Regions from separate parts of the Homo sapiens genome. Here region 1 is linked to region 2. Evidence: promoter capture Hi-C in 16 types of primary human blood cells and fetal thymus (Javierre and others, 2016). All regions are on one chromosome and are shown on one strand. Each heading gives the region's core, a stretch centred on a gene start or on the middle of the fragment in contact. The rest is flanking DNA. Distances are from core to core; before and after follow the strand shown.

Region 1 (6,519 bases), core at 1,643-4,142, 230 kb after region 2:
AGGTAATTTGTGGAGATGCCCATTTCATGGGACCACACTTGAGCTTCTTGGAGTTTCTGCTCTGGATCAAAATTCTGCTGCTTGTATAACATGTTCTGAGGCAAAGGCTTGCTTCTGGTTTGGGATCCTTTTGACACCCACAACAGGTTTATCTCCCTTCACACCAGCATCTCACTTGCTTCTTTTTCTCTGCACTTTGAGTTGCCAAATCCTGTTGGATTGCTTTTTTGATCTCAATCCCCTAACACCTTTTCTTCCAGAAGAGCTTAAAGCAGCGCCTGGGTAAGAGTAACATCCAGGCACGGTTAGGCCGACCCATAGGGGCCCTGGCCAGGGGAGCAATCGGAGGACGAGGCCTACCCATAATCCAGAGAGGCTTGCCCAGAGGAGGACTACGTGGGGGACGTGCCACCAGAACCCTACTTAGGGGCGGGATGTCACTCCGAGGTCAGTGCTGTGTACCCTGATAATTGTCGGGCCCTACTCCCTTCCCTTTTCTCTTGGGCTGCTTATGGACACGTTTGTTTAACATCTTTAAGCCTGAATTTGTATTAATATAATAACTTCTGAAATCACATATTTTTAATAGTGCTGCATGTCTTTTATCAATACCATTCCTTTTCTGATAATGTGCAATGGTGAGAGGCTATGACCTGCGTAACAACAGGTAATTCATGTCATCTCCATTCCATTTTAAAACACCCTGCTGTTGCTTGAATCAAAGCACATTCAAGTTCTAGAAACAAGTCAAACATAAGAAATTTATAGGTCTTTTGGCCTATATCTCTTTGTTCCTGGTGCTAGTAAAACACTGATACAGCTGGAAAAAGAGGACAAGTTGACCCACAGCACTTACCTATATATGTTCATTTGGGGCACTATTACTCTGTTCCCTGTATAGTTCTTGTTCCCTAGAAGAATCTGTTGAGATCAGGAACCATAGCATTTATTTTTAAATTTACCATAATGCTAGGCATCTATCTGATTATTCAGTAGATATTTATTAAATGTATGTACTTACTAATTGAATTAACTCCCAACTTCCAAAAATGGATTTGTGGTCAGACTTGTTGAATTGATTGAATAAAGAGTAGCTTAATCTGTTCACAGTATGCAGCTTGCCCCAGCCAACCTAAAAACTAACTGAATTACCTTCATTTAACCCTCACCGCCTTCCTTTGGTTAGAATCTACTTTGTGTCTCTTGGATTTACCTGCATATACATTGTATGCCTCCTCTCTAAGGTCAAAACCTGCTCCGAGGTGGACGAGCCGTAGCTCCCCGAATGGGCTTAAGAAGAGGTGGTGTTCGAGGTCGTGGAGGTCCTGGGAGAGGGGGCCTAGGGCGTGGAGCTATGGGTCGTGGCGGAATCGGTGGTAGAGGTTAGTCAGCTACCAACTTCAGAGAGTAGCTCCCCCTTACTTTCCTCCCTTAAAAACTCAGAGCCACCTTTCTGCACAGCTTCAAGTCATAGGCAGGCTTCTTTGTTTGTCTTGTTTTGTTATTTGAAACTGGCTTATTTTTCAAATTACCATGCTGGTAGTGCAAAAGTCTCATGATTTTTCCAAGAATCAATCAAGTGCATATTATAGAGCCAGATTATATGCCATCTTCCTCCAAGCTCTTGCAAATTTAAATTGTATAGTTGAAAATACCCCCCAAAATGGTCAGTTTAGGGTTTTGCCTTTCTCTGCCCCTGTCCCACCACCATCACCACCACATACCACCCTGTAGCTCCAAATCCTGGTTTGAGTCACATGAGAATATAGAAGAGAGAGAGAGATACAAAGATGAAGTAGAGTTAAGAGGGTGGTGAGACTTGGAGCTGGGCATTGGCTCTGAAACCAAATAAATTCAATGTCACATTTGGTGCCTGTGGAGAACCAGAGATGACTTTTTTTGCTTAAGGTAGAGAGCAAGATGGAATTATTATCAGTTAACTAACTGGCTCTTATTGATAATCTTGCCTTTGAAATTTATTGATGTTTGTCTTGTGACCTCATGACCCAGATTGGGAAAGAGTTTAATGATGTTGCTGCTGTTAATACTAAATCTCATGGGAGCCTTCTGGTTTAGAGCTTAGTGGAAAACTCCCAACACCTGTCCAGAAAAAAAACACTATTGAAGCCCCTGTGTATATTTGCTTTGGTTCTCTTAAAAGGTGTCTTGGGTCTTCCATAACTTATGACCTTGAAGTTGCCAAGGAATAATAACTGTTAGGAAAGAAAAGTTGATAACCAAGGGCTTGTTTTCTTCTCTCCCATTATATGATACTTACTGAGTGAAGTGCAAGCTAGTTTGGGTTTCAGGATGAAATAACATGTTTCCAAATTATCTTGACTTGGATCCTGAGAGACATCACGAGGGTGGGAGAGACTAAAATAGCTTTTCAAAAAGCTGAGTTTGTTTTGTTAACTGAATTCACACTGCTTCTCAGATAACCACAATTGTCAGTTGTCATAAGGTAACTAGAATTAAAGGTAGAAATAGCTAGGACAACTCAAAATATTTTTTCAAATCTCCCCTACATTGTTCCTGTGTCAGAAAAACTCAGTCTCCTGACACATGAGGTCAGCTAGCTCATTAGACTTGATAAGTTTAAGGACAGGTGAGATGACTTTCCAGAAGGGTCTCCAATAAACTTAATTTGAAAACTGTCTTGTCTTCACACCCCTGATGCTCTGTGCTCTTGTTACCACCTCCCTATCTTACCAAATGGGGTTATCTGTCATGTATTTTAATTATGAACTTAGTGAATCTCAAATGTTAGGTAATTTTATCTTAGGATTGATTAAGGTTTTTTAAAATTATAGTTGCCAGTTAATTATTTTCCTTTATTGATAGAATAAAATTTGTTAAAATAGCATTTAGAGATGATCATGTGATAGAGGATTCATTATGTGTGCTTTCCATGTGTTGCTTTCTACCCATTGTGTTTCCTTTTTTTCCAGATTTCTCCTCTTTGCCCTGCCCTTCAGCTTTTCTCAGCTAGGCCCCACTGCTCTAAGGGGCATTTACTACAGCACCTATTAAACTTACTTGTAACTGTCTCTTTTTTTTTTTTTTTCCCCTTTGGGCCAGGTCGGGGTATGATAGGTCGGGGAAGAGGGGGCTTTGGAGGCCGAGGCCGAGGCCGTGGACGAGGGAGAGGTGCCCTTGCTCGCCCTGTATTGACCAAGGAGCAGCTGGACAACCAATTGGATGCATATATGTCGAAAACAAAAGGACACCTGGATGCTGAGTTGGATGCCTACATGGCGCAGACAGATCCCGAAACCAATGATTGAAGCCTGCCCATCCTCCCATGAGAGACTCTTGTTAGTCAACACATCTGTAAATAACCTTGAGATAACAGATGAGAAGAAATCTGATTGATGCTGGATGGACCTATCACAATAGGCTGTGGACTTACTTGCCACCAGCTTGTGCATTTAGTGTGTTCCTTTTACTTTTTGATACTGTGTTGTATGAAACCCTTTTGTCCTTTGATTTGGTTTTTTGTTTTTGTTTTTTTAGGGGGGAGGGGGGGTTTCCCCTCCTTTGCCCAGACTTCTCTTTGAACACAAATGCATTAGCCTTGTGGCTAGAACACCCTCTTCCTACCTCTGTCTCCCCTCACTTGTCATATGCTCTGACATGCTAACATTTCTTTTGTTCATCCCTGTTGCCCCCACAGAAACATCCCAGAAAAACCGGTCAGTGTTCCTTCCTCCCTGATCCTTAGGTTTCTGAAATAGGGTTCTGTTACATCCTCTTCGATAGCCTGTTTAAAATGTTTAGAAGGTCTGGAGCTCAAAAATGCGTTCTTCCACATTGATAATTTAGTAAACTGAGAACATTGACATCACTACAGGGCAGCATAAGAGGTTGCTTACATGTGGTAGCAGCTCTGGTTTGATTCAAGTTGCTACCATGTACATTGACAGCACATATACCATAACCAGCGTGTTGGGTTGAATTGCACTTTCTACCTTTGTATGAGATTTACAGACTTTCCTTCTGGGTTTGTATCATGACCAGAGGGGTACTATAGGGTTGGTTTATACTGCAATATAGAGGATCAGAAGCCATTTGATTTGGTAGGTGTGTCAGAAGGGAGAATGATGGCAGACGAACTGCTGGAAGAGGTCAGAAGATAGCCATGCTAAAATGCAATTATATCCTCATGTTTATCCCAAACTAATCTTGGACTTTTCCACTCATTAGCTTTGTTTTGCCCTTGTTTCCCTTGAAGGTTTAAGTTCAACCATATTCTGTCAACTGTTCAGTTTCAGTGGAATCTTGTATTTCTGGTTCATTATAACAAACTGTTCGCTTAAATCCACCCAGGACTCTCTTTATTTGAGGTGCCTCAAAATGCCATGGCTACTTTAATGATGTTTTTTTTTTTTTTTCTTGTGACCGAGTCTCGCTCCTGTCACCAGGCTGGAGTGCAGTGGCGCGATCTTGGCTCTGCAACCTCCAACTCTCTGGTTCAAGCGATTCTCCTGCCTCAGCCTCCCGGGTGGCTGTGACTACAGACATGTGCCACCACACCCAGCTAATTTTTGTATTTTTAGTAGAGATGGGGTTTCACCATGTTGGCCAGGATGGTCTTGATCTCTTGACTTGGTGATCCACCCGCTTCAGCCTCCCAAAATGCAGGGATTACAGGCGTGACCCACTTTCAGCCTCCCAAAGTGCAGGGATTACAGGCGTGACCCACTGCACCCAGCCACTTTAATGATGTCTTGATATACCCCTTGTATGGTTGAGAGTTTCTTTCTTCTTACTTGTGTTAAAATTCTGGAGAGCCTGTGGCTTTGAGCAGAAAGTGAAGAATTTGACTTCCTCTGAGCTCTGCAGAAATAACACCACGCCCACAAAAACTCAAGGAAGATTGTCTTGGGCAACATTCTGGGCCCTTGGGCCCTGGCACATATTTCCCTTTTTCCCTATGTTGAGAGCTGAAGAGAAAAGAACCTAGTAGCGCCCAGCCAAGCCAGTTGTCATTGGGCTGCCTTTCACCCTAAACTGCCAGGAGGTTGTACTTACTGGGGGCTGGGAAGGAAATTTTGGTCAGGACAACCCAAACTTGAATCCTGTGATGTGGGGTGTCTGTAGGTCCCAAGGGAGATGGGCAGTGGGGGTCTAGCAGAAGGCTACAGGTTGGACGGTGACTGCAGAACTGAATCCCCAGTTCAGCTCCTTCTGCCTTTTCCAGTGCTAAAGCATGAGGACTTCCCCTCCCAGCCAACCTCCCCAACAACCCAAACAAGTGCAAAATGCCAGGCTCCCTCCTACCCCAGAGGAGACTGATGCTTAAGAGTTCTCTATAAAGGAGGTGACTGCCGTAGCCTAGGCTTCCTTCCTTCTACCTCCATGTCCTTCCTACTTCATTGAAAGAATTTATCCCCAAATCGCTTATGTGGGGCACAGGGAACTCTCCTATCAGCCAAGGGTCCTCCAGCCCCACCTACTGCTCACTACAGTTCCCAGGGTCTCCTGAGGCCTGTGTCCCTGTCATCCTCAGTCACTGGTCGTGTGGGACAAGGTGAGTAAACCTGACCTCCTCTGGGTCAGCCTTTCATTCAGCTGCCATGTGCTGAGGGCTTGCCATACCAACACAAGGCATCCTTTGTAAGGGTAACATTAGGAGCATAGGGAAGAGGTTGATGAGCTGGATCTTTTAAGACAAGGGAAAGTAGAGAAAATACACCAAGCAGAGGGAACCAAGTGTAAAGGTACAGTGCTAAAAGAACACCTGAGGCTGGGCACAGTGGCTTACGCCTGTAATCCCAGCACTTTGGGAGGCCGAGGCGGGTAGATCACCTGAGGTCGGGAGTTTGAGACCAGCCTGACCAACATGGAGAAACCCCGTATCTACTAAAAATATGAAATAAGCTGGGCGTGGTGGCACATGCCTGTAATCCCAGCTACTCGGGAGGCTGAGACAGAAGAATCACTTGAACCCGGGAGGCGGAGGTTGCAGTGAGCCGAGATGGCGCCATTGCACTCCAGCCTGGGCAACAAGAGTGAAACTCCATCTCGAAAAAAAAAAGGTGGTCCTGCTGCTATGAATAGATAGCTCCATGGACCCAGCAGGGGTTAGGGTAGAGGCTCCCACTTATGCCTCGGTGGGCTCTCCCACCTGCGTCACACCCTGGCTAGTGACCCAGTCAGACGTGCTGGGGACCCTGGCTGACCACCTGTACCAGGGGCAAGGAAGGAAGGAGAGGGGAGCATTGTGAAGCAGGGCAGGATGACTCTTGAAGGTGGAGACAGGCCCTGGACAGCTCTGGGACCCTTAATGGTGGCAGCAGCCCCCAGTCATAGGCCTCATTGTGTGGGCAGCCTGGGACAGCTAAGATCCCCATGAGGTCTCTTTAAAGGATTCACTAAATGCTCCATTTAGTCTTGGTTTGTTTTTTTGTTTTGTTTTGTTTTTTGAGATGGAGTCTCGCTCTGTTGCCTGGCTGGAATGCAGTGGTGCAATCTTGGCTCACTGAAAACTCCAACTCCCTGGTTCAAGCAATTCTG
Region 2 (6,187 bases), core at 1,776-4,275:
TTCCTGGGCAGACTCTGCCAGAAACTGCCAAGTGATATAAATTTGTCAGTTTTCATTAATTTATTTCAATGTTTGCTTTGTATAATTCAATATTATGTTCTTGTGTATATAAGGATAAGACTATTGCCAGGTGCAGTGGCTCACAACTGTAATCCCAGCACTTTGGGAGGCCGAGATGAGTGGATCGCTTGAGGTCAGGAGTTCGAGACCAGCCCGGCCAACATGATGAAACCCCATTTCTATTAAAAATACAAAAATTAGCTGGATATAGTGGCAGGCGCCTATAATCCCAGCTACTCAGAAGGCCGAGGCAGGAGAATCGCTTGAACCTAGGAGGAGGAGATTGCAGCGAGCCAAGATGACACCACTGCACTCTAACCTGGGCTGCAAGAGCAAAAGTGTGTCTCATAAAAAAGAAAAAACAAGAAAGAAAAAAAAGATAAGACTATTGCATCTTGGTGACTTGCACACTAATCAATAGGAAATATTCTTCTTTTTCATTTAATCCCTTTTCTTAGAATTCTTTGTTGTCTTGTATTAATATTGTTGTCCCTGATTCCTTTTGTATTGCATTTCTTCTGTTCCTTTTTTTTATAAACAGTGATGATATGTAACTCAAAATGAATCATAGACCTACATGCAAAACATAATATTACAAAACTCCTAGATGGTAGCATAAGAGGAAATTTGATCATCTTGGTTTTGGTGATGACTTTTTAGATGCAACACCAAGGCACAATCCATGAAAGAAATAATTCATAAGCTGGACTTCTTTAAAATTTAACATTTCTGCTTTGTGAAAGATATTGTCAAGAGAATGAAAAGATAAGCCACAGACTGGGAGAAAATATTTACAAAAGACATATCAGACTTTGTATGTTATCCAAAACGTACAAAGAACTCTTAAAACTCAGAGATAAGAACACAAACCAAACAATTAGAAAATGGGCCAAAGACCTTAACAGACATCTCATCAAAGAAGATACAGAAGGTGACAAATAAGCATATCAGCTGATGCTCCACATCATATGTCCTCAAGGAAATGCAAATTAAAACAACAATGAGATACCAGTACACACTTATGAGAATGCCCAAAATCTGGAACACTGACAGCACCAAATGCTAAAGAAGGATGTGGAGCAACAGGAACTCTCATTCATTGATGGCAGGAACACAAAATAGTACAGCCACTTGGGAAGACAGTTTGGTGCTTTCTTAAAAAACTAAACATACTCTTACCATAGGATCCAGAAATCACACTCTTCGGGATTTACCCAAAAGAACTGAAAGCTTATGTCCACACAAAAACCTGCATACACATGTATATGAACACATTGCACAGTGGTGAAGTCCGGGCTTTTAATGCAGCCATCCTAAATAACACGCATTGTACCCACTAAGAAATGTCTCCTCCTTCACCCACCACCTGACCTCCTGCTCTTCACTGTCTCCAGTGTCTATGATTCTACTCTCTCTCTACCTCCATCTGTATGCATGATGTACCTCCCACTTACACATGAGGGTGCACAGTGTTTGACTTTCTTTTTCTGAGTAATTTCACTTAAGATAATAGCCTCCAGTTCCATCCATGTTGCTGCAAAAGTCATCATTTCATTCTTTTTATGGTTGAGTAGTATTCGTCTGTGTGTGTGTGTATGTGTGCGTTTGTGTGTGTGTTTGTGTGTGTGTGCGTGTGTGTGTGTGTGTGTATCTTTTGCCGCTAAAAGTAATATTGCCGTCATATGGGAAACTGGGAGAGGGAGAAACAGGTCCCCCTGGTTACATAAGAACTGACAGAGAAGGAAGTTGAAGAAAGATGATGGGTGGAGAAAATAGGTCCCACCTAGGGAGACATCACATCAGCTCTATGGAGCCCCAGAGTGCTTAAAGGGCTGGCACTAAATGAACCAGGACCTCTTGCGGCCTACAAGGAACATTGTAAGGGGGTAGCAGAAAAAGTCCATTTCAGTGATTCATCATCTCCTTTTCCTCACCATGCCCCAGGGACTCCTGTGCCTTCCCAACCCTCTTGCCCCTACCTGGTTCAGGCTTTCCACAGCAGGTTAGGGCACATTATAGCCAAGGGCACAACTCCCAACTCCTACACAGGCTGTTTTGCATAGGAGGAGGAAAAACACTGAAGACTTTCTGGGAAGTTAGTGCCATGGGGCAGGAAAGAACTTTTCCCACTCCCTACCTCCAGGCTCATTCCATGGGGCGGGGGGGGCGGGGGTCACTCCACCACTCAACCTAGATAGTGAGGCCCCTGACCCCAGTCCCCCCACCTAAATCCAGGGCTTCTGTGAGGGGCTGACCAATGGTTAGCAATGAAGTAATCCTGCTTCCCTCCCTGGACTTTGAGTTCCCATAGGGCAGACCCTGATGCAACCCAAGACCTATAGCACAGGGGATAAGAGTAAGGATTTGATTCAGGCTTTTCTTTGTTCGTGTGATGATTTGTTGTGTTTACTAGCTGAGTAAACTTGGGAACATCTCAACTTCTCCTTTCCTAAAATAGAGATTGCAGCACCTGCTTCTTAAGACTATGAGGGGAGGGTTGAGGAGGATGCAAGAGCAGCAGGTGTCTTGATGTCTAGACATTAAAACGCTCAGTAAGCGGTGGGGGTCATAGAACAGGCTGTCACAACAAATGTGTGGAAGTACTGGGGGAGGGAATAAACAAGACCATGCTGCCTTTGGGAGTCTGAAACTCCATTCTCTTTGGGTCCAGAGGCCCAGTGCTCTTTTCTCCCATTTCCTGACCTGTTACTACACATGTACCGCTGCCTTACCCTCAAATCAAGATTGAGCCAGAGAAGGCCCCAGGTGAGGTCTCTGGGGTGGGGTGGGACCTGGTGACCTGGGACCCTGGCCAGAAATCCTGAGCACAGCCTCCTGGGTGTGTCCCACACACCTGATATGGGACAAGCCTCCAAGAAACAGATGACAGAGGTGGCCCCAGGCCTCCCAACCCGTGGGAAGAGCCAGGCTGAGCCTTATAAAGGACTGCTCTTTGTCCAAACACACACATCTCACTCATCCTTCTACTCGTGACACTTCCCAGTTCTGGTAAGTCTCACCTGCCTCTTTGCATTTTCTAGAAGTGCCCAGTGCCCAGCCTGCCATGCTGCCTGTAGGAAGGGAAAGGGCTGTGGACAAAGTCTCAGAAGCCTGGGTCTAGGCCAGCTCTGCCATTAGCTGGGCTGTGTGACCTTCACTTGACCCCAAAAGCCCACGTCTGTACAACCAGGTGGCTGAACCAGACCTGTCCATTGCTCCTTTGGGATCTCCTGAGACAACTCCTGTGGAAATGTCCCCAGTGGGACCTGAGCACAGGACCCTCCCTTTCCTTCCTGTCTTCTTCCTCCCTGGATTCATTCTCCTTTTGGGATCCCAGTTGCTGAATCCCCTCCCCAGCTCTGCCCCCACAGAGGGAGGAGGGATAAGGATCCCCTGTGAATGCTTTGGAGGCTCTCCAAACCCCCAGGCCTTGGACCTGTAAATTCTCAGTCAATCTCTGGGCACAGGGCTTGGCCTCTGGCCTTGGCCTTGGCCTCAGATTCAGAAAGCTTTGAGTGGCTTCTCTTAGTCAGTTGCTGGCACGGAGCTTTCTCCTGCGTTGAGAGGTGTTGGGGGTTTATTGTCAGATGCCCACATGCGTTAGCCAAGGTCCTTTTCTGGTTCTTTGGAAAGTGTAGAAATGAGAGCTGCACTGTCTTATTTTTCAGGCTTGGGGTGCAGGGCAGCCCAGGCTGGCTACTGGCTGGAAGATCTGCTTTGGAAAGTCAGACATTTTTATTTAAACAGGGTCAACCCTTGGTGATTCAGAGGGTGCAGATATTTCCCAAGAGCAGACATGAAGCGACTCCCACCTCACTCCCACCCCATCCAGCAGCTTAAGAACCAGGGAGTTATTTCTGTTCCTTGTAACAGAGGCAATTCTTGTTTCTCATTCCCAAGGGAATGTAGGAAGGGCCCCCTGTCCTCGGGAGAGGGCTGTGTTTCCTGCTCACACTCATGTCCACGCTCACATGTGCACCTGGAGCCTGCACGCACTGTGTCATGCAGGGCTTGCACTTGAGTCAAGGTGGGGCCCACGGTGTCTGGTTCCTGAAGCAGCCGAGGAGGGTCAGACACCAGATCACCAAGGCCATTGTCCTGCCCCCGTGACTCTCACCCCGACTGTGAAGCTGGAGGAGATGGATTTGGTGCTGTTTCAAGAGTGGGGTCCGCCATGTGCTGGTTGAGGCTGGGGGGTCCCAGCTTAGTTCTTCTATGTGTTGCTGGCCTCCGACTCTCCCTGCTTCTCCTTCTCTGAAGCACTGTCCACAGCTGGACTTCTGCCATCCACCTGCATCTCTTCTTGGCCCTGGCCAGGATGGGCCGGGTCTCAGACTTGGTCCTACCCTCTCATTTTTGAACAACTTATCCCATCACATTTAAAAAAATCAAGTTCCTTCTGCTCCATCTTAGGGCTGTTTTTACTCTGTCCTCAGCCCTCCTTCTAACACCCCCACATAGAGACCTTAATTCAAACTAAGGTAAGAAATGATTGTCTTTATTTCCTGAAGGCTTTTTGAAAGCAAAGATGAGCAACACTCAAGCTGAGAGGTCCATAATAGGCATGATCGACATGTTTCACAAATACACCGGACGTGATGGCAAGATTGAGAAGCCAAGCCTGCTGACGATGATGAAGGAGAACTTCCCCAATTTCCTCAGTGCCTGTGTGAGTTGGGGTCTAGCTTCTCAATGTTGGTTGGACCCTGGCATGGCTGAGGATACATTTTGCTATGTGGCCTTGGACAGGTCACCCTCATCCTCTGATTAAAAAGTTTCCCATTTGCAAATAGGGCTTTATTGCTTGGATCATATGTGAATCTAAGGATGGTAGGCGAAAAAGTATGAAAATGGGAAAGAGTTATACAGATATAAAGGAGGTTATTAGATGGTCAGCAAAGTGTGCAGCTTGAGGACAGTGCACAGTCCCCTCCCAGCGCTCACTGACCCTCTCTCTGTGAGACTGAAACTCACATGCTCAGGTCCTGCTTCCCAAAGGCCCCACATCAACATCCCTGAGATTACTGGGAAAGCACTAGAAGTTCCATTGCTAGTAGAAATCAATAGCCCTCTTTGCAATAAAGAAAACTCATTGGCAAATCTGAAAAAACCTGTGGGCTACTAGGTACCAAAGGGTCTAGATGACCAAGAGTAGGGAACCCAGAAGATGAGTTTGGTGGAAAAGGAGAAGAAAGGAGAGGAGGTCAGAGAAAGAAGAGAACAAAGCATGAGGGCCAATTTTGAGGCCCTGGGGTAGAACTAAGGTAGGCAGTGCCCTTAAATGCTGGGAACAGGCAAGATTGAGGCTGGGGCAGGGGACTGCTCTCCCCAAGGTCACTTAACAGAGTGCCTCGGGACAGGACCTGCCTCCCATCCTGAGGTGTGAGACAAAAAGTCTCCTTAGAGAACTCCAGGGATAACACTCACGTCCTCACCCCAACTTCACCCACTCACCCTGTGCTCTCAGCCCCACGACCATGCCTGTGCAGATCTAGGTACTTGTCTGTATCTCTGCCTCCTCCTCTCCCCTCCCAGCCCAAAACTTGTTTGTGATTGAATTTTTCTATTTTGTATGTTTTTCTCTTCACAGGACAAAAAGGGCATACATTACCTCGCCACTGTCTTTGAGAAAAAGGACAAGAATGAGGATAAGAAGATTGATTTTTCTGAGTTTCTGTCCTTGCTGGGAGACATAGCCGCAGACTACCACAAGCAGAGCCATGGAGCGGCGCCCTGTTCTGGGGGAAGCCAGTGATCCAGCCCCACCAAGGGGCCTCCAGAGACCCCAGGAACAATAAGTGTCTCCTCCCACCAGACACTTGCCTTATTTCTTCTTCTCTTTGGTGACCTACATTGTCAAAACTACCAATTCCAGGTTAACTTTGTTGGAGAATTTCCCCCACCCCCATCCAGTGGGTCACCCAGGAGTAATGTCCCTCCAGCAACGTTCCCCCTATGGCCTCCAGCAGAGCTGATCTGCCTCTCACACAGGTCCTGGTGTCTGCCTCTGCACCGTTCCCTAAATGCAGCCACCTTGGCAGGTTCCAGGTGGAAGTTGGTAGAAGGCCCCTGCCAGGTCACAGCAATGCTCTCCTTGTCAAGGCATGGACCAGGGTCATTCAGACAC

The links. The method cuts DNA at HindIII sites, captures the fragments that hold promoters and counts their contacts. A CHiCAGO score of 5 or more calls a contact.
Region 1: a contact is called between a fragment that was not itself captured here and the fragment with the promoter of S100A7A in region 2, in 1 of 17 cell types (neutrophils). The highest score is 7.4, in neutrophils.

Annotation. Positions count from the first base shown.
Region 1 is chr1:153,641,983-153,648,501 of GRCh38, forward strand. CHTOP (chromatin target of PRMT1) reads left to right here. Exons shown (of 6, transcript NM_015607.4): 4 at 264-447; 5 at 1,245-1,382; 6 at 3,082-4,324. The coding sequence ends at 3,287. Among named protein-coding and RNA genes, the nearest start is that of CHTOP, 11 kb to the left of the region's middle. The HindIII fragment of the contact is 7,820 bases long and covers 1-6,519 here.
Region 2 is chr1:153,413,495-153,419,681 of GRCh38, forward strand. S100A7A (S100 calcium binding protein A7A) reads left to right here and starts at 3,026. Exons shown (of 3, transcript NM_176823.4): 1 at 3,026-3,069; 2 at 4,572-4,729; 3 at 5,651-6,187. The coding sequence starts at 4,589. The coding sequence ends at 5,815. It also overlaps a transcript of S100A8 not described here. The HindIII fragment of the contact is 2,279 bases long and covers 1,289-3,567 here.